Linked DNA regions of Homo sapiens: regions 1, 2, 3 and 5 are each linked to region 4. Evidence: promoter capture Hi-C in 16 types of primary human blood cells and fetal thymus (Javierre and others, 2016). All regions are on one chromosome and are shown on one strand. The core of a region is centred on a gene start or on the middle of the fragment in contact, and the rest is flanking DNA. Distances in the headings are between cores, read along the strand shown.

What was found. Contacts are between HindIII fragments. The CHiCAGO score rates a contact against its expected background, and 5 or more counts as called.
Region 1: a contact is called between a fragment that was not itself captured here and the fragment with the promoter of IMPA2 in region 4, in 1 of 17 cell types (neutrophils). The highest score is 8.4, in neutrophils.
Region 2: a contact is called between a fragment that was not itself captured here and the fragment with the promoter of IMPA2 in region 4, in 2 of 17 cell types (total CD8 T cells and neutrophils). The highest score is 8.3, in total CD8 T cells.
Region 3: a fragment that was not itself captured here is called in contact with the fragment with the promoter of IMPA2 in region 4 in 2 of 17 cell types (naive CD8 T cells and total CD4 T cells); the score reaches 6.5 in naive CD8 T cells.
Region 5: a fragment that was not itself captured here is called in contact with the fragment with the promoter of IMPA2 in region 4 in 1 of 17 cell types (neutrophils); the score reaches 7.0 in neutrophils.

What each region holds. Positions count from the first base shown.
Region 1 is chr18:9,107,418-9,111,799 of GRCh38, reverse strand. All of the region lies in intron 1 of NDUFV2 (NADH:ubiquinone oxidoreductase core subunit V2), which reads right to left. Among named protein-coding and RNA genes, the nearest start is that of NDUFV2, 6.9 kb to the right of the region's middle. The HindIII fragment of the contact is 4,743 bases long and covers 682-4,382 here.
Region 2 is chr18:9,617,949-9,622,257 of GRCh38, reverse strand. It overlaps PPP4R1-AS1 (PPP4R1 antisense RNA 1), which reads right to left. Exons shown (of 3, transcript NR_110773.1): 3 at 2,895-3,063. It also overlaps the pseudogene RNU6-903P. Among named protein-coding and RNA genes, the nearest start is that of PPP4R1-AS1, 5.3 kb to the right of the region's middle. The HindIII fragment of the contact is 2,301 bases long and covers 384-2,684 here.
Region 3 is chr18:9,916,467-9,920,807 of GRCh38, reverse strand. The region is part of intron 1 of VAPA (VAMP associated protein A); the gene reads right to left. Among named protein-coding and RNA genes, the nearest start is that of VAPA, 4.6 kb to the right of the region's middle. The HindIII fragment of the contact is 5,213 bases long and covers 1-4,341 here.
Region 4 is chr18:11,978,592-11,982,992 of GRCh38, reverse strand. IMPA2 (inositol monophosphatase 2) reads right to left here and starts at 1,486. Exons shown (of 8, transcript NM_014214.3): 1 at 1,228-1,486. The coding sequence starts at 1,323. RefSeq lists silencers at 949-2,428, 2,269-2,563. The HindIII fragment of the contact is 12,350 bases long and covers 1-4,401 here.
Region 5 is chr18:9,127,726-9,131,693 of GRCh38, reverse strand. The region is part of intron 7 of NDUFV2 (NADH:ubiquinone oxidoreductase core subunit V2); the gene reads right to left. The region is part of intron 2 of NDUFV2-AS1 (NDUFV2 antisense RNA 1); the gene reads left to right. Among named protein-coding and RNA genes, the nearest start is that of NDUFV2-AS1, 7.0 kb to the left of the region's middle. The HindIII fragment of the contact is 1,805 bases long and covers 1,175-2,979 here.

The DNA.
Region 1 (4,382 bases), core at 1,804-4,303, 2.9 Mb after region 4:
CATTTATAAAAACAGAAAAATAACGGCATGTACTTCATAGGGTTCTTGAGAGCATTAAAAGATGTACTTCAGGCCGGGCACAGTAGCTCATGCCTGTAATCCCATCACTTTAGGAGGCTGAGGCGGACGGATCACCTGAGGTCATGAGTTCGAGACCAGCCTAGCCAACATGATGAGACCCCATCCCTACTAAAAATACAAAAATTAGCTGGGCGTGGTGGCACGTGCCTGTAATCCCAGCTAACCAGGAGGCTGAGGCAGGAGAATCGCTTGAACTCAGGATGCAGAGGTTGCAGTGAGCCCAGCTCGTGCCACAGCACTCCAGCCTGGGCAACAGAGTGAGACTCTGTCTCGGGGGGAAAAAAAAAAGATGTACTTCATGTAAAGTGCTTAATATTCTGCTTGGCAGATGGTAAGTACTGTATTAGTGTTGGCTATCATTAGCTATTATTATTAGAAGTACTATGTGTCAGGCACTAAGCTTTTTACACATTATTTAATTCTTAAAGTTTCCTGCAAGGTGGGTATTATTCCCAGAAATTTAAATGAGTTATGAAAACTTCTCAAGGTTAGGTCACATCACTAATTATTGGCAGAAATTATGTTAGATCCTAGGGCCAGATGATTACAAAGGCCATGACCTTATTATTAGCCACCTGACTGTTTGATGACATCAAAGCTTTAAAAGAACATAGTAGGTCTAAGAAACCAAGGAGTTTAAGGAAGAAAATCAGGCCTCCATATATACAGGCAGGCAGATAAGAAATGAAAAGCCCTGCCTCCTTGGCTTACAATGCTCCTGTTAAGAGAGAAAGATGCAAGTTATTTAATCTTTTTTTAATCCTTGCCACCCTTCTCTTCTATTCCTGCAAAAAACCTGAACGTATACACACTAGCATAACATTTGAGCAACTTAATTTCAAAGTCCGAAGTCGACCTCTTCAAAGTTGTATAAGAAGGGCTGAGATAATGTTTATAAAATAAAAGAAGCTGGCCAGACACGGTGGCTCACACCCATAATCCCAGAACTTTGGAAAGCCAAGCCCCATAGATCGCTTGAAGCCAGGGGTTTGATATCAGCGTGGGCAACATGGTGAAACCCTGTCTCTACAAAAAATACAAAAGTTAGCCAGGCATGGTGGCACATGCCTGTAGTCCCAGCCACTTGAGAGGCTGAGGTGGGAGCATCGCTTGCGCCCAAGAGGTTGAGGTTGCAGCGAGCCATGATCATGCACTGCACCCAAGCCTGGGAGACAGAGTGAGACCCTGTCTCAAAAAAGTAGTAAGTAAACAAACAATAAAGAAAGAAACAAACTAAATAGTGAAGATAAACTGATAAATCTTAGCTCTCGGTTTTTTTCAACTGGCATAAACTGTTATTCATCCCTATCAAGTTACAGGTGGCCTGAAAATGGCTTTGAAAATTGTTTTTTTGGTGTGTTTAAAGAATATCACCTATTTTACATTCATTGTAATGTCTACGTCAGACACTTTCAATAAAGGAATAAAACATTAAAAGTTCTCATTAACATCTTTACACTACTTACTGGGCCATTTCAATTTTGTTTCACTTTGAAATAAAGAGGCATTCCAGGACCAGGCTTAAAACTGGAAAAAACAACCTAGCTAGGCTGGAATGATTCAAAGAATAAGCTGAGTTCCCACCCACCCCCTTCTTTGAGTACAGTCTAGTCTTTTCTCTAGAATCTAGCTTCTCATTAGACTCTGAAATGTCTATACCTCAAGAAATTCCAATTGAGTCCAATTGAAAATCCAAGTAACTTCCTTTTTTTAAGAAGAAAAGCATGCAACCAAGTAACTTTTTTAAGTAAATAAGATCATAACCTAATATACAGCTCAAAATTAACAGTGGGTTTGAATTCTAGCTTATTTTTTTTTCAGTGTTTCAGAAGGAAAAGAAAAGATTTAAGCAGGCCAAAACAGTGACTGCCTTTTCGTTGGAGTCAAGTAAACTTGAGTGCCTCTGTGTTAAGCTCTTCTACATACTTTTTTTCGTCGATTCCTAAAAAATCTGTAGTGAGTCATTATTTCCATTTTACATTTAGAGAAACTCAGGCTCAAAGACAGTAACTTGCCCCATACCGCACAATTAGTGACAGACCTGGATTTTGAGCCCAGGCTCTTTCAATCTAAGGGCCCTGTGCTCTTTCTACCAGCCTTTCCCTTTTACTGTCACTGGCAATACCAATAGCTCAAAATGACAAAAATTAAAGTTTTATATTCTCCCCAATAGGATTCCTTAATTGTCTTTTCATGGGCTCTACTCTTTTTCTGAATTTCTTCTGTTGTTCAAACAATACTACCATCCAACGAAGCTCACTTTTCAGTTCTATCAGACATTTGCATTATAAATGCATCCAGCTAAGAGAAGTTAATAAGAGACTAAGAAGCTGTAAGACAAAACTGACAGAAGCAGTAATCTAATTAGTCAGAAAGACAAGACTAAGGTCAGGCAATTCAAAAACCCTTCTTTTTTCCTTTATTAGAGGCCAACTAAGGCAAGGAATATACCTTTTAGATGATCCCTAATATTTACAGATTAAATCCACCAAGATATCTATTTGCCTGTGCAAGAGTCACAGTGCACACATGAAACATCTCTAGTGAATCCAAAGTGGTCTGAGGTCCCTCCGTGCCTTCCTCTCACTGTTCACAACATCTGCTGACTTGTTACCTACAGCCTCCCCTATTGCCAGCTCAAGCAAGAAAACTGAAACCTCCTAAAAAAGTCAGGGTCTGCAATACATTCATTCAGACTAGGTAATTTTACATTTAAAAAAAATCCTTGAGGCTGGGTGCAGTGGCTCATGCCTGTAATCCCAGCACTTTGAGAGCCGAGGCAGGTGGATCACTGGAGGTCAGGAGTTTGAGACCAGCCTAGCCAACATGGTGAAACCCCATCTCTACTAAAAGTACAAAAATTAGCCGGGTGTGGTGGCACGCACCTTTAATCCCAGCTACTTGGGAGGCTGAGGCAGGAGAATCGCTTGAACCCGGGAGGCAGAGGTTGCAGTGAGCCAAAATCACGCCACTGAACTCCAGCCTGGGCAACAGAGTAAGACTCTGTCTCAAAAAAAAAAAAAAAAAAATTCCATGAAAAACAAAAGTTTTTCAGTGCATTTTATTTTAACAAAGTTGATGCTGGGTTAATAATTGTGAAATCTATTTCAAGGATAATCATAAATACAAATGCTTACTCTATGTCAGATCTCATGCTATAAACTACAAATCTACACTATAATCCATTTATTCCTCTCAGCAAGCCTACCAAGTAGGTATTATTATCTTGTTTTACAGGTGAGAAAATTAAGGCTCAAAGAAGGGGGAAAAACTTTCCCTAGCTCACACAGCTAAATAAATGAAATGCCACATACAGATTTTCCTGACTTCAGTACATGCCTTAACCACTAAAATTTAAGTTTTGCTGTATTTTCAGATAGAAATAGGAGGACTTTTACAAACATCCTCCAAATAAAGTTCCATCAGTAATTTACCTAAAAATGTTAATTCAGGTTAAAATGTAAGTAATTTTTACCATACTATGAGAGAATTAACAAATGTAATTTGGCTAAATTTTATATTATAGAAAAGCTGCATGAAGAGCCCAGGTATTACAGGCACTGTGCATTACAGATTAAGATAACAGCATTAATGATTCCAGCCATCTTGACCATATATTAAAGAAAACATTCTTTAGATATCTAAAATCCCACATGGATATAAGCAACAACCAATTGTTCTAAGGACAAGAATAATTTATAGAAATGAAATGCCCATCCAGTGGACCCGGGGTTCAGTCTCACCTCATGCACTTCAGTGTCTTTGTATATGTAGCTAGCTATACCTACAGCATTATCTCAACTTACACCTTCCACTCATCCATCATGACCAAGGTTAACCTCCTCCTCTTACCCCTTTAAAGCCCCTAAACCTCCATCTCCTACCCCTTTAAAGCCCCTAAACCTCCATCTCTTTTCCCTAAGCAAAGTGAAATCATTTCCCTAGTCTGCTTACACTGGTACACCTTTTATTATTAGAGTGCCTATTAAATTTAAATCTTCACCATACATAGTGATTTCCCTTAGCAACTTCAATTGTTTGAGCAACTTCAGAAAGGTAGATTAAAAACAAAACAAAACAGGACTTGCGAATAAACCCAGCCCTTACTACTGTGTGATCTTGGGCATTTATTTGTCCAGCAATCTTCATATATCTCACACATAAAATGGGGTAACACCTAGCAAAATATCCGACAGATAAAGCCACCTTCCCCCTAACCAAAATGTGTGTAAACTGTCTTTGATGTTTTGTAATGAAAGACATTTCCTACAACTGATTTATAACATGCTTCCTGAACTGAT
Region 2 (4,309 bases), core at 285-2,784, 2.4 Mb after region 4:
AAAGTGCTGGGATTACAGGCATGAGCCACCACGCCCGGCTAAACTTTTTTTTCTTTTTTCCCCCCAAGACGGAGTCTCCCACTGTCGCCCAGGCTGGAGTGCAGTGGCGCGATCTTGGCTCACTGCAAGCTTCGCCTCCCAGATTAATGCCATTCTCCTGCCTCAGCCTCCCGAGTAGCTGGGACTACAGGCGCCCGCCATCACGCCCGGCTAATTTTTTGCATTTTTAGTAGAGACGGGGTTTCACCATGTTAGCCAGGGTGGTTTCAATCTCCTGACCTCGTGATCCGCCCACCTCAGCCTCCCAAAGTGCTGGGATTACAGGCGTGAGCCACCGCGCCCGGCCTAGGCTAAACTTTTTTAAATATAGGACTTTGAAAGCTTTAAAAAATAGGTAAACATAAACTGTTTGGGGGTATTATCTCTAAATTTTTGGAGATTTTAGTTTTTTCTTTATACTTTTCTGGGCACTCCAAAAACATGTATTTTTGTAATTGGAAAATTCAGAAAAGAATAAATGTTACAAAGATGTAGAATTCCGGCCGGCCATGGTGGTTCACACCTGTAATCCCAGCTCTTTGGGAGGCCAAAGTGGGAGGATTGCTTGAACCCAGCAGTTCAAGACTAGCCTGGGCAACAAAGTGAGACCGCATCTCAAAAAAAAAAAAATATGTAGAATTCCACCCCTCCCAACACCTGCCACATACCTACAAGCAGCAGCAACAACAAAACCTCCTAAAAAACCAAGAACATCGTTTGAGGGAGAAGTGAGTTGGCACCTGAGTTCAAGATTGTCTACCTGGATGATTTGTCCGAATAATGAAATGGTGGCAAACTGCAGCCATTCAAGCCAAGGGCAGCTGGTGAGAGGACACTGTTAAGGCACTTGCTTGGGAATTTCACAGAATTGTGATGAACAAAATATTATATGAGAAAGATAATTTTTGTATACTTGGCCAGAATAATTGAAACAGGCTAGTTAAAAAGTTATTAGTATGGTTTTGAAGTGGTTAATATCTTGGTCAGGATATTGAGTGAGAAACGGAGTGAAGAGGTGACTCCTAAAATGTTTCAATGACAAAATCCTCAGGGAACAGTGATAACTTAGATGGAATTAGAGATTATACCAAGACCATACATGTTGAAAGACTAGAAGTTCTCTTAATGCGAAAGAAGTTGACGAAGGACCATTTTGACAGAAAAGCTATGAATGTGAGGATACGCAAACGCTATTGCCATTATTTAGAATCAGGATTCCAGTGTTTGAATACTAATTCCCCTATTTGCTTGCTTGCTTGCTTTCTTTCTTTTCTTTTTTTTTTTTTTTTTTGAGACAGTCTCACTCTGTCACCCAGGCCAGAGTGCAGTGGTGTGATCTCGGCTCACTGCAAACTCCACCTCCTGGGTTCAAGAGATTCTAATGCCTCAGCCTCCCGAGTAGCTGGGATTACAGGCATGTGCCACCACACCCAGCTAACTTTTGTATTTTTAGTAGAGACAGGGTTTCACCATGTTGGCCAGGCTGGTCTCGAACCCCTGGCCTCAAATGATCCACCCACCTCGGCCTCCCAAAGTGCTGGGATTACAGGTGTGAGCCACTGTGCCAGGTCATTTGCTTTTTGATCTTTGTCAAAATACCCAACCTTTCTGAGCTTCGATTTCCTTTATTTTTAAAATGGTAATATCAATTTCTACTTCACAGGGCTGTTTTAAATAATCAGAAAGCACATAAAAGTGCTTAACAGGCTGGACGCGGTGGCTCACACCTGTAATCCCACCACTTTGGGGGGCCGAGGCAGGTGGATCACTTGAGGTCAGGAGTTTGAGACCAGCCTGGCCAACATGGTGAAACCCCGTCTGTACAAAAAAAAAAAAAAAATATATATATATATATACAAAAATTAGCTGAGTATGGTGGTGGGCGCCTGTAGTCCCAGCTACTCAGGAGGCTGAGACAGGAGAATCGCTTGTACCCGGGAGGCGGAGGTTGCAGCAAGCTGAGATTGCAGCAAGCTGAGATTGTGCAACTGCACTCCAGCCTGGGTGATGGAGCGAGATTCCATCTCAGAAAAAAAAAAAAAAAAGAAAAAAAGAAAAAAAAAGAAAAAGCGCTTAACATGATGCCTGGCACACGCTCTGAAAAATGTTTCATATATACGGTAATATTACCATTGGGGGAACTGATGTGAAAGTGACATAGGACATCCTGGCACATCATTTGAAACTTCATGTAAATCTGTAATTGTTTCTAAATAAAAAGTTAGAAAATGTATTAGCTATCTAGTCTGGGAATTATATTGTGTCATTGTGCTAATATTTTTCCCACCAAAGGAAGGAACCAAGGACCAGAGACACAAGCAATTTGTTACAAACAGTTACAGAGAAGTGAAATGAGAATGGAAGTAATTTCTTCTGAATCATATTACCATAGAGCAGCCTTAGTGTGAAGGGAGCTTAGAGTCAGGGCAGTTAACCACTGAACTTATCTGGGTTTGAATATGTGGTTTGCTATGGTTTATTTCCTGGTTCAACTTGACTCATCCATTCAGATTCAGAATAATAAACATTTAAACATTTAAAATAATAAGCATCTAAAATGATAAGCATTTCCTCCACACGTACTCTGTGCCAGGCATTGTGGAAGCCTCTCCCATATTGCTTTGAATGGGATTGCAACTAAAGCTTTCTAAATTCTAAGAGAAAGGCACAAAGGAAATTTACTACTGCCACTCTAATCCATTTAGTGCTCACTGTTTAAACATCTTTGTTTTCTCTTAATGAAATTAAAATGTGTGGAACAAATTGTGTAGGATGTAGTACCTCATCAGTGGGGAATTCTTTTGCCTCTACTAACCTGGAGCACTGGGAAAAGCACGGGAGTAGGGAACATAGTGGATAAGAAAAAGAGGGTTTATTTTCCTTTATACTCAGTTTACAGTAGTGATTCCAGCAGGATGCACTATTTTGTTCAGAAAAAGCTGATGCTAAGAAACTTGGAGCTGTGGCTGACGACCTTGGGACAGAGCTGAAGTTCTGTTGCATTCTCGGGGCAGTGTTCAGCTCCTGTAAATGTAGAAAGAACAGCCTGAATCAGGGTAACTCTGTATAGAGCTCAGTTCTGTAGGTATTTTTCTTCTCTTTTTTCTTTTCTTTTCTTCTCTTTTCTTTTCTTTTCCTTTCTTTCCCTCCCTCCTTCCCTCCCTCCCTCCCCTTCTTTCTTTCTCTCTTCTTTCTTAAGCACAGTGTGAGAAAATGTCTCTTTAGCTGATGTGAGTAAAGAGATCAAGTATCTTTGAAAAACTATGAAAGCTCTAGGAAAGGCTAAGGCTTCACATTCAGAATGTCACCTTGACAGGGAGCTTTAAAGGGAGATAGAAGAAGCATAGAGAGGAGGACAAGTAAAATTTCACAAATATACAATTTTTTTTTTTTTTTGAGACAGTCTCGCTCTGTCACCCAGGCTGGAGTGCAGTGGCGCGATCTTGGCTCACTGCAAGCTCTGCCTCCTGGGTTCACGCCATTCTCCTGGCTCAGCCTCCCGAGTAGCTGGGACTACAGGTGCCCGCCACCATGCCTGGCTAATTTTTTTGTATTTTTAGTAGAGACTGGGTTTCACTGTTAGCCAGGATAGTCTCGATCCCCTGACCTTGTGATCTGCCTGCCTCAGCCTCCCAAAGTGGTGGGATTACAGGCGTGAGCCACTGCGTCTGTCCTTACCTTTATACAATGTATAGAAATGTATAGGAGGCTTTAGGTAAGAGACTGGCAATTAGTTTTTTTAAATTGTTCCTTTTTTTTTTTGAGACAGACTCTCACTCTGTGTCCCGGACTGGAGTGCAGTGGCATGATCTTGGCTCACTGCAACCTCTGCCTCCCCGGTTCAAGTGATTCTCCTGCCTCAGCCTCCCTAGTAGCTGGGATTACAGGCATGTGCCACCATGCCCAGCTAATTTTTTGTATTTTTAGTAGAGACAGGGTTTCGTCATGTTAGCCAGGCTGGTCTCGAACTCCCAACGCCAGGTGATCTGCCCACCTCAGCCACCCAAAGTGCTGGGATTACAGGCGTGAGCCACCACACATGGCCTAAAAATTGTTCTTCTTATTTGAAAATGAGTTTATGAGGGACATTTTGTCAATCTGGCTTCAAAAAAGATGAATGAAATGAATGGTAAAAATTTGTTTAACGTGCTCGTTTCAGCAGCACATGCACTAAAATTAGACTGATACAGAGAAGATTAGCATGGCCCCTGTGCAAAGATGACACGCAAATTTCATTTTAAAAAAGCAAATAAATATTTGTTTAAAAATC
Region 3 (4,341 bases), core at 1,191-3,690, 2.1 Mb after region 4:
ATGGTTTCATATAGCCAAAGTTATGGACAGAAGAAAAAGAATAGACACTGAGGCTGGAGAGTTAGGCAGTGGATTTTGGATTTTTCAAGTACATAGTAAGAAAACATTTAGAGTTCTTCAATCAAGGGACTAACAGTAACAGCCTCCTTTTTCCAAAGCGTAGTTCCAGCAGCAGTGTGGAGGACAGGGTAAAGAGCTGACAATAAAGGAGGCTGGGCACAGTGGCTCACGCCTGTCATCCCAACACTTTGGGAGGCAGAGGCAGGTGGATCACTTGAGGTCAGGGAGACCAGCCTGGCCCACAGGGCAAAACCCCGTCTCTACTAAAAATACAAAAATTAGCCAGGCATGGTGGTGCACGCCTGTAATCCCAGCTACTTGGGAGGCTGAGGCAGGAGCATCGCTTGAACTCGGGAGGCAGAGGTTGCAGTGAGCCGAGATAGCGCCACTGCACACCACCATGGGTGACAAAGCGAGACTCCATCTCAAGAAAAAAATGAAAGAAAGAAAGAAAAGAAAAGGAGATGTCTGCTGACTAGTAAATATAAAAGGACCTGAAGTAAGGAAATTATCCAAAGCCCAGACCTTTTCTTAAGTAACACACCCATTTAACCAAATCCACCTTCATGTTAATATCCTGAAAGACCTAAACATATCTACCATACGTCCTCCTCCTCCATCTCTCTCACACACCCCCAAATAAGATGCATTTCGTCCTCATCCAGACATCCACCGTTTCTCAAATAGCACCACCATTTCCCCAGTTATATAAGCAGAAATCTCAGACATTCATACCCTTTTCTCTCAGTGCACATAGAGACCACCAAGTCTCACAGATTCAACCTAACTTTTCATCACCTCCAATACCATGACCTCAGTCCAAGGGGTCACCACTTGCCAGTACTGCTGCAGCCGCCTAATTCATCTCTTTCTCCCCTCTAGTATAATTTTACATTGCTACCAGAATTATTTTTAAATGCAAATGTGATGTTATTCGATTCCCTCCATCTTTACTGCTCCTCCCCTCACTTAAAAACCCTAGTGGCTCAGGATAAAAACAAAACTCCTAACTTGACCTACTAAACCAGCACTACATTCATCTTGACTATTTTCACCACTGCCACGCCGACCTCTTTCAGTATGGTAAATGTTTCACAGTCCCTCCTGCTACCGGATATTTGAACATGCATTTTCCTTTCTTCTTCACCAGGATAACTTTTACTCATTGTTGGAATCTTAGTTCAACTGTGACAGCCTGATCGAAGACCCTTATTTTACATTCTCGTAGCACTATATAGCTCTTCAGGGGTACACTTTATTCTTCTGATTATTTTATTAGTATCTATCTCTCTTGTTAGAACTGCCCCATGAAAACATGGCTTGTGTTTCACTCACAACTGTAGTTCCAATATTTATTCATCATACCTGACATGTAGCAGATACTCAAATCTAATCAAATTAGATCCATAATTGAATGAATTTTAAAAATAAATGAATTTGGAAGTAGAAACACATTGAAGTGGACAAAGGGATTATGTCAAAAATAGAAACACAGATTTTAATTATTAGATATGCATATTGTTTCTGGTGTGAGTAATCATGATGCCACTAAAAAATAAAAATAAAGCCAAGTGCAATGGCTCAGGCCTGTAATCCCAGCACTTTAGGAGGCCAAGGCAGGAGGATCACGCAAGGTCAGGAGTTCGAGATCAGCCTGGGCAACACAGCGGCACCCCCATATGTACGTAAAAAATTAGCTGGGCATGGTAGCATGCACCTATAGTCCTAGCTATTCAGGAGGATCACTTGAGCCCAGGAGGTCACGGCTGCAGTGAGCCAAGAACGTGCATGCCACTGCACTCCAGGTTGAGCAACTGAGCAAGACCCCATCTCAAAAATAAAAATAAAAAATATGGGAAGAAGAGTAGGCATGGGTAGTAAAAATTTTGAGATATTTTGAGTTTAGAATATCATATCTGTGCAATATTCAAATCTAAATAGTGAATAAGTTGTTTGAGTATGTGCTCTTGACTGACGGTAAAATGTGAATTAAAACAGACTTGGGGGTGTAGCAATACCTGCAGAGAGCAAGGAAGATAAAGAGAAAACCTCAAAACAATGAAATGAACAAAGAAAGTTCACAGAGTGAGATAAATGAAACCAAATCAGAATCTCAGAAACATGAGCATTTGAGGAAAATGCCACAAATAAGACAATAAATGGAGCAAATAAGAAAATTAGAAGACAATGCTGTTATAGAAGCCAGAAGAATTGAGGGTTTTTTTTAGAGAAACTGTCGGTACTGTCAAGAGCCAGGGGGAGGTCAAGTAAGATAAAAACTGGAAATGATTAAGTTAGCAATAAGTAGTGAGAGGATAAAAGTACCGTGGACTAAGGAGAGAATAAAAGGTGAGTAACTGGAAAAACAGTGAATATGGACTATTTTTCCAAAAAGTCTGAATGCAAAGGAAATGAAGGACAGGGAGAGACACATACTAGAAAGAGTTATGGTCAAAGAAGTACATGTCTGCTCATTTGTTTTTAAAATCAAAGACTCTGGTGTATTTATATGTTAAAACAATGCAGCCAGTGATTGAAAACCAGCAGGAAAACATCTCATGGAACATGGTCTGAGTCATAAGGAATTTTACCTTAGCCAGCAAAAATAGAGGAACAAAGAACCTTGGGTATGAGCAGGGTTTTTCTTTCTCAGGGAAGAAAGTATGGATGTGTACAGACTAACAGGTGTTACAAGAGGAAGGCACATCATGGAAGAGATGGTATGTCTTACTGAAAAAAAAAAATCTGACTTTTATTCTGTGAGCAATTGAGAGTTACCTAAAAACTAAGGAATGGAGTAATATATGATTAAAGATTACATTCATGTCTTTAGAGCCCCAGGCGTTTTGTATAGCCACTGGGAAACATGAAGAGCCGACTGGAAACACCTAAAAATGTGCTAAATATCCATCCAGAGGAGTATTCTCTAATTTCCCCCCCGCCCCGTGCTGCTTCTATGCAGATGCACTAGCTGATGTTAACACCATACGTCCCTCGATCCCTCAGAGAGCTTAATTTTCTTTGTTGATTTATTGTTATCGGCCACTCTCAACATAAGGATTTTGGTTTATTTTCGTCTCTCTCTGATCATTAAGAATATATTTGAAATTTATTTTAGCATTTTATAAACTTTCTTCTTCAAACTTTTCTACAAAACTGCTAATAGGGGTCAGGTGCGGTGGCTCACGCCTGTAATCCCAGCACTTTGGGAGGCCAAGGCAGGCGGATCACCTGAGGTCAGAAGTTCGAGGCCAGCCTGGCAAAATCCCGTCTCTACAAAAAATTCAAAATTAGCTGGGCATGGTAGTGCATGCCTGTAGTTCCAGCTACTCTGGAGACTGAGGCAGGAGAATTGCTTGAACCCGGGAGGCAGAGACTGCAATGAGCCGAGATCGAGCCACTGCAACAGAGCAAGACTCCGTCTCAAAAAATAAAAAAATTTAAAAAAACTGCTAATAGGTAGAAAAATAAAATGTGTAATACATTATAAATGGAATTTTATCATGTAAAAAATTTTAAAGACAAAAAAAATCTTTCACATAAAATACCAAGTTTCAAATCTGAAATCTAGGTAAAATTACTTCCAAGGTTTAAACAGAATTTGAAGTAAAGCAGCGTCTACTTCTTTTTCTTTACTAACACAAGTGATCTACTTCAGAATTCATTACATCGTAAATGCACTTTTATATGTTAACGACTGTATAAAACAAACTTTTTTTTAAATACTGAGGTATACAGAAAAATGTACTGAAATAGTTGGTGTCTGCTTTTGCAAAATTGTGCAACATACTGTTAATTCATCTTCAAGATGCTTGTTAGGTGTATAAAAGAAAAACCATCCAATCTCAGAATGATTACCTGAGTCACTCCTGGAGAAACCATCTCAAACTCAGAATCAATAACTAAAATAAACCTACTAGAAGATGACAAAGAATTTTGCAAAACTGTCTTCTAAAAGTCCTTCACTTAGAAAGTTTTGAATGACTTAGGGTAAGTCAGTTAAATGATTTTTTTCTATCATAAACTAAGCCCAAGTAGACTGTACATTCTAAATGAATCTCCTCAGTGTTGAACTGTGCATTTAAATACACAAAGGTTTCCATCAAAGCCAACAATTTACCTTTGACTAAAACGATAATATTAAGGAATCAAACACCAAATGTCACCTCCCAATCCTCCCCATCATCTCCATCTTTAAACTGAAACACACAACAAACTATTGGGCATTTAAGTACCAGGCATTCTCTCACAGCAGTGTGTTTACTCAACCACTCTCTTGGC
Region 4 (4,401 bases), core at 237-2,736:
ATCCACTTTATGACGACTCACTTCAAATTTAAGATTGATAACAGTCCGATTTCAACATCTAGGGAAACTGGTAGAGCATTTTCGGACTGTCAGACCTCAAAAAAGAAAACAAATGTTTGAATATAAAAGGCCAATCTGCTCTCAGCACACCTCCTGTCTCTAAAATCCCCGAAAACAATCACTTTTTTTTTTTTTTTTTGAGACGGAGTTTTGTTCTTGTTGCCCAGGCTGGTGTGCAATGGCGCGATCTCAGCTCACTGCAACCTTCGCCTCCCAGGTTCAAGTGATTCTCCTGCCTCAGCCTCCCAAATAGCTGGAACTAAGGCACGCGCCACCATGCCCAGCTAATTTTGTATTTTCAGTAGAGACGGGGTTTCACCATGTTGGTCAGGCTGGTCTCGAACTCCTGACCTCAAGTGGTCCACCCGCCTCGGCCTCCCAAAGTGCTGGGATTACAGGCGTGAGCCACTGCGCCCGGCCCACAATCACATCCTAAGAGACAAACATGGAGTAAGCCATCTTACAGTCCTGGGAGAACCAACACTCGCTTGCCTACCACTACCGTCGGTGTGTCAGGCACTGCTAAAGGTACTGAGGAAAGTGGAAGGAACAATCACAAAAATGAAAAAGAGAAGAGAGGAACTGCACTCCATTTTAAACTCTGCTCGCTGGTTTTCGGTAGCTCTGCGGCTCGGTTTTCATCCTTCCGGGCAGTGTAACAAGTTCCTCCTGAACTCTGAGTCCGTGGCCGTCGCGGAGCTGAGCCACTTTCAGGGTGTGGGTCAGAGTAAGTTTGGGTTGAGGATGCTGCAGCCAGGACAATCAAACGGCAGCCCAGCCAGATCCCCACGCGGCTGGGGCTTAGCCCCGGGCTTCCTACCGCGAGCTGAATCCGTTCATAGGTCCTTAAAAATCAACAGCCCCGTACGCTACCCCTGGAGAGATTTCTACATTCTGACCACTCACTCAAACGCAAAGGTCACGTTAGCCGCTGAACTCCAAAGCAGAGGGGCTCGCCGCCAGGGCTCCGGGAGTTGGAGAAGGGCGCGGGAGGTGTGTCCAGGACACCAGCACAAAGGCTCCTTTCACCGCTCCGCGCCCCGCGCCCTCGGGTGCGGACCCTGGGCGCCCGCCGGCTGCGCGCCAGGACCCCGCCACTCCAGGCGGCTCCCAAGGCCCACGCGCTTCTGCTCCGCCCGGACTTCCGAGCCCAGCCGTGGCGCTCACCTGTCCTGCCCGCAGCGCCAGCTGCACGGCCGCCTGGAAGCACTCCTCCCAGGGGCCGGCCGCCAGCGCCGCCTGGTCCTCGCCGCTCGGCTTCATCGCGGCCTCGCCGGGCCCCTCCACCTCCAGCCCCCCTCGGCGGGACTCCGGCTCCCACCGGATCCCGCCGTCCCGCCGCCAGGCTCCACACTCCCTGTGCCTGCTCCCGCAGCTCTGTGCCTAGTCCGCCGCCCGTCCCACACCTGCGCTGGCGGGAAGGGCAGCCAGCGGGCCGCGGGAGCCGTGCGTCCTGCTTTCCGCTCCCCACCCTCCGCCCCGCCCCGTGCCGAGCCCAGCCCAGCTCCCCGCCCCGCTCCCCGCCCAGCTCCCTGCTCCCGCGTCCGGCCCCGCTCTGCATTCCCCACCTCGCCCCTCGCAGAGCTCGGCCCCGCCCATTCCCCCCTCTTCCCCGCCCCTTGACGCTCCCGGCCCCGCCCCGCACCCGTTGCTGCTCCTGGCCTCTTCCCGCGCCGTGCCCGGCCCCGTCCTGCACCGCCCCTCCCGCTCCCGGCTGCGCCCCGTACCTGGCCCCGCCCCTCTGGGCTAGCCCTGAACACAAATCAGTGCCGAGCCTGGTCCCTCTCCGCTCCGCGCTTTACCTCCAGCCCCGCCCCTGTGGTGCAGCATCACCCTCCCCGCTCGAGGCGGACCCAACCCTGCTCCGCCGTGCCCCGTCCCGCAGCGCGCAGAGCGGGCTCCAACTCCTCTGAGCCTCGAGCCCCGCCTCCCTCAAGTTGAGCCGGGCCCGTGTCCAAGCCCCGCCCCACCGCCGCGCGCTGAGACAGGCCCCACCCCCGGCTCGTGCAGAACTCCGTACTGTTCTGGGTCAAGCGCGCGGAGGGCGGCTTGGGCCACCGCAGAGCTGGGAGGGAGGAGCTAGGAGCGGCTGTTTTGGGGGCCCGGGGCAGCTACTGTCTGGGTGGGACCGTGCGGTGCCGGCCCAGCCCCGGAGGTGCCGGGGAGCGTCCCGTCCGCGGATCCCCGCGCACGTGGTGCCGGGCGTCCCTTCATGGTCTGTGGCCGGATTCGGGCTCGAGCGCCAGGGGCGGCTGGGCCAGCACCTTCCGACCGGTCGCTTTTTGTTCGCGGAGGCCGCTGGGCGCTAGGCGTCGTTCTCGGCCTCGCAGGAGCTCAGACCGCCGAGCGCACAAGGCCGCAGTGTTCCTGCAAGCGGCCGCCCCGCGCGGCAAGTTTGGTCGCAAACAAGCTCTCCCTCCGCTAACCCCAAACACTGCGAGGACAGCGGCTGGACTTTATAAACTCTTCACACCCAAAACTCGAATTTGGAGACGGAACTGTGATTGCGATGAGCCTCTGTAGTGAGGAATGACCTTTCCAACCTTGGATTCTCTTGCTGGCCCATGTAAACATAAATAGGAGGCATTTCCCGAAAGAGTGGCCGCGTGGTTTCCAAGGTTAATTTCATAAGCCGCTCTGCCTGCCCGTTTTATAAAAGATGCTAACCCACGTAAAATTATTCTGGAGTGCCACTTCGGAGTCTGGGAGAATAATGGGAGTTTGTACAAGAACCTTGATGGGGCATTTTTTACACACTTAACCTAATAATGAAATTAAACGTTTTTAGTTTTTGAGTACTTTATGCTGAAACACCTTGTGGAGAAACTTTAAGTGTACCGTATAAGAGACAAAAAGTACAAACAGGAGGAATTACAAACAGGAAATACAAACACGCAGATATGGGTACAACTTTAGGGACTCTGGCCTCACCCAGAGCCCTAATCCTACGGCTCAGAAAACTAGACCAATTGCCCTGCCTCCCACCACGCCAGTTTGGGGCAGCTAAGGGCGCACTCCCCTCCATCTTTTTTGGGTTCTTATGTTTTTATGATGTTTAAGACAGAGGCCGGGTGCGGTGGCTCACGCCTGTAATCCCAGCACTTTGGGATGCCGAGGCGGGCGGATCACGAGGTCAAGAGATCGAGACCAGCCTGACCAACAAGGTGAAACCCCGTCTCTACTAAAAATACAAAAATTAGTTGGGCGTGATGGCAGGTGTCTGTAATCCCAGCTACTCGGGAGGCTGAGACAGGAGAATCCCTTGAACCTGGGAGGCTGAGGTTGCAGTGAGCCGAGATGGCGCCACTGCGCTCCAGCCTGGCGACAGAGTGAGACTCCGTCGCAAAAAAAAAAAAAAAAAAAAAAAGACAGCAGGACTTCAGAATGCACTTAAGATTGTGCTGTGAATGCGTTACTTTAAAAGAAATGCATTCTCTTGTTGATTTTCATGACAGGTTTTCATTAGCGGTCACTTCCAACACCAAGCAAACAAAGAAGTGGCAAAATGTCTCTTCCGCCTCTTCCCAGTTCTCCTTTCTGAACACCTCTGCCTGTGCTCCTGGTACTGTCACCCCATCTGGAAGCTCAGTTATATCTTTAGATAAACTTTCATGATAGATCCCAGCTTATCTAAACAACTGGAAAAAGAGTTAACTTTCTTTCCCAAATGACATATCTTAAGGCAGCGTAGTGTGGTTTTTAACAGCATGAGGCTTTGAAGCAGCCAGGTTTCCTAAATTAAAATATTGGCCTCTCTTCTTCCTTACTGTGTGGATTTGAGCAAGTTAAAAATAACCGGTTTTGCCTGTTTCTTCAACTGTAAAGTGGTCTTTGTAACCATTGTATGGGTTAATGTACTTGTGCTTGGAACGTATGTGTTTGCTATTATTATTAAAGACTGGTCATTTATGCACCAGTGTGGGTAGCCTCAAGCAATCAGCATACCGCTTGGCACCCAATAGGTGTTTAATAAATATCTGTTCGGCCAGGTGTGGTGGCTCACGCCTGTAATCCCAGAACTTTGGGAGGCCGAGGTAGGAGGATCATCTGAGGTCAGGAGTTCAAGACCAGCCTGGGCAACATGGTGAAACCTATCCTCTACCAAAAATAAACAAAATTAGGCAGGCATCGTGGCATGTGCCTGTAGTCCCAGCTGCTCAGGAGTCTGAGGCAGGAGAATTGCTTGAACCCTGGAGGCCAAGGTAGCAGTGAGCCAAGATTGCACCACTGCACTCCAGCCTGGGTGACACGAGCAAGACTCTATCTCAAAAAATAAAAATAGGCCAAGCGCGGTGGCTCACGCCTGTAATCCCAACACTTTAGGAGACAAAGGTAGGCGGA
Region 5 (3,968 bases), core at 828-3,327, 2.9 Mb after region 4:
TTCTGTAAACTTTCATGGCTTAAAGTACTTTACATAGACAAATTACTTTATAAAAGTTTAGTGCTTTTTACTATTGCTGAGATATATCCAGCACTGTCCCTACTTTTAGTATAAAAAACCAAAAGTGATGTTATTGTCTAGAGTCATCTACCAACCGCATTGGAACTGTAGCCTAGCTCTAAATATGAAGAATTAAAGTTGGATTTAAAATGAGTTATAAACTAATCCATACTAAAAAATTTCTACCTATTAGTAACCTGAAAACAAGTTTAGAATTTTTCAGTACTTTAAATTCACTGAAAATAAGAACAATCTCAGCACAAAAATATTTAGTAATGTCAAGATTAAGAGACTACAGCTGACCCTGAACAACACAGGTTTGAACTGCATGGGTTCACTTGTACATGGATTTTCTTCAGCCTCTGCCACCTCTGAGACAGCAAGGCCAACCCCTCCTCTTCCTCAGCCTATACAACATGAAAATGATAAGACTTGTACTATGATCCACTTAATGAAGAGTAAATATATTTTCATTATGATTTTAATAACATTTTCTTTTCTCTAGATTATGGTAAGAATACAGTCAGTATATAATACAGACAACATGCAAAATATGTGCTGACTATGTTATTTGTTAAGGCCTTCAGACAACTGCAGGCTATGAGTAAAGTTTTGGAGGAGTCAAAAGTTACACACAGATCTTCAACTGCATGAGCAATCAATGTCCCTAACGCCCATGGTGTTCAAGAGTCAACTGTATTATCTTACCACTGCTTTAATATTTTCAGTGGTCATTCACCAACGATAATACAAAAGCAGTTTTGAACCACATATAGACATCAGTCTTTTACTAATTTTGGCCAGGGTAAGACCTGGCAGTGGTACTCAGGAATCAGTTACTATTGAACCAGTTTAATTCCTCTCGGTTTTTCATTACAGAGACGCACAATTAGTACCTCTTTCAAAGAGCAGAGATATTTATTATTAAAATACCAATAAAAAAGAATTAGACAGCTTTGGTTAATTTAGAATAACTATAACTATATTATGGTTATTGCTATCCCAGTCTCTGTCATTATCCTATATATCCAAGATATTGGGTAAGTAAAGTGAAAAGTTCTTGTTTTCATATGCTGACAAGACATTCTAGTATTGCTATGTCCAAATACAAGCTTTATATAATACAGCATTGGTGGATGCTTGCAATTATTGAAACCTAAGTAGACTTTTGTCTGCTTTTTAAATAAGAGGTAGTAAGTAAAAAAAGAGATTCGGACACGAATAATTTTGAAGTATTTGGCTCAAATCCAGAACACTGTCAAGAAAATCTCAGCGAAAAACTATTCATGATTACTGATAAGTAACATCCCTATTATTATCAGATGTTGTTGAAAATGCTTAACTGAGTACTTAGTTCCTGCTTATTGTTAAAATACAATGTTATAGTACCTCATATTACAAATAACAGATTTTAATTTCACCCCGATAATGTCATCCAGATTTATAACTTTAAATACTACCCTTAGTAACTGATGAATCCCCAATTTGTGTTTCCAGCCCTAACCTATTCCCTATATTCCAGGTTCGTATCTACCTATCAGCATCATACCATGGATGTCTTAACAGGCATCTCAAACTTACTATGTCTAAAACAAAATTTGACTTTTCTTCCCCAAACTTGCCCTACCACAAATCTTCTCTATTTTCGGTAAAGGAACCTCAGAGATGCTCAAGCCAAAAAGCTGAAAATCACTCATAAATCCTTAGTCCCACATATCTACTAAATTCTAATCTCCACATAGCAACTATGGCAGTATTTTAAGATTGCTCATTCCATTCCCTACTGAAAACATTCCAACAGTTTTTATTATATTTAAGATTCAGCCCAGATTACTTATCTGGGCCCTTATCTCCTCTGACCCCTTCCACTGCTTTCTTGCTTGAGCACCTCACTGCAGCCATACTGTTACCTTACTTTTCTTCCAGGACCCTGATACATCCTCTTTCCCCTCCCTGGAACATTGTTCCTTCAGCTCTTTACATGGTTCCCTCTAGCTCTTCATTCAGGTCATGGCTCAAATGTTACCACCTCTAAGCGGCCTCTCCTCACTAAATTTACTCCCTATCTATCCCCTAACACCTGCTACATTTTATTGTGTAGCCTTTTTATCACTCACATATTACACTAGTCATCTGTCTCCATCACTAGAAGATATATGAGAACTTTATCTTGTTCATAATTGTATTCATAACCTAAAATAATGCCTGACACACAGCAGGCACTCAAAAAAATTTGTGAAAAAAATTACTGTTGAGTATTTAATGTAATGTGACATAACAAAGTAGACAAAGCAGGTATCAATTTGTGTGGCAGGAGAGTAATACTAGATTAATATGAACCATAGATCCCACAGTTCACAAGAAGCAAAGCAGAAGATTCTAAACGCCAAAGTGGCCGGGCGTGGTGGCTCAAGCCTGTAATCCCAGCACTTTGGGAGGCCAAGGCAGGCAGATCACTTGAGGTCAGGAGTTCGAGACCACCCTGGCCAACATGGTAAAACCCCGTCTCTACTAAAAATACAAAAATTAGCTGGGCATGGTGGTGGCACGTTCTTATAGTCCCAGCTGCTCGGGAGACTGAGGCAGGAGAATCGCTTGAGCCTGGGAGGCAGAAGTTGCAGTGAGTCGAGATCACACCACTGCACTATAGCCTAAGTGACAGAGCAAGACTCCATCTCGGGTGAGGGGAGGAGTGGGGGGGAGGAAGCCCAACACCAAAGTTATGACTATAGAATTCAAAACATCTAATCAGAAGAGAGGGGCCATCTAAAGAACCCAAGTGGATTTCACAAGGAAATCTGCACTTGAGATATTCTTTAGAGTACCCAAAAGGTGAAAGAAGTTATGGGCTGAAGTACAAACCTAAGAATAGCATGAATTTATTTTAAAATACCTGAATCCTAAAAAGCAGATGAAGCTTGTGGAAAATATTATGAAATTTGTACTTTTTGGGGGGACAGTGTCTATTTAAAGCAAGAATAAGTAAGGGATAGGAGCACTAGCTAAGAAAGATACTGTAATGATAGATGACTAAAGGTTTTACTTCAGTTGCCTCCATAAAGGAGAATGATTTTTCACCAGGGAAATGATTTACCTCCTAAAAAAAGGGGTATACCCAAGAAAGTGAGGAATTAGGAAGAAAATGCCAACACTCTTTAAGCAAATTCAATTCTATAGGCTCAGGTTGTTAAGAACAGTATACGTTTCTTAGAAAAGAAAGTAATGGTCAACAGGGGCCAGCTAGCATTTACTAAACTTAAGTTATCCTGAACTGACCTCATTTTCTCATTAAGTAGGGTATTATTAGTAGTTTTAGAGAGCAAACTCTAGAACCACTCATACCCTCTTAGTAATTCTACTTCAGGGAATTGTTATTTATAATAAAGCTTAAGAAAAATATTTTAAAACGGGAGTAAGAGCACATCACAGCTGTTTTAAAACATTAGAATACCGTATGGACATCAAAAACTCCAAATGTGCTGAGGGAAGAAAAAATTTATATACATAAACAAAAAATTTGAGGGATTATGACTAAAACCATGAGAACATTTGCTAGTATTAAGAGAGAATTTTGAGTGATTGAACACATACATGGAATAAGGGTTTGTTTAAAAGTGAAAATCCAAGTTCATAACTGAAAGGAAAGTAATTAATGTAACACAGGTATGGGACGGGAGCAACCTGGATAAATAGTGAACAGAAAAAGATCTAGGTATTATGAAGTGCAGTTAATTGTGTAATGTCTCTGAAGTAGGAGTTGATATAATTAGGCACAATTATTACAAGCATAATGTCTGGAACAAAGGAGGCAGTCCCACAATGCTCTGTGCTGCTCAGTATGTATCTCAAAATACCATGATTAGGCCGGGCACAGTGGCTCATGCCTGTAATCCCAGCACTTTGGGAGT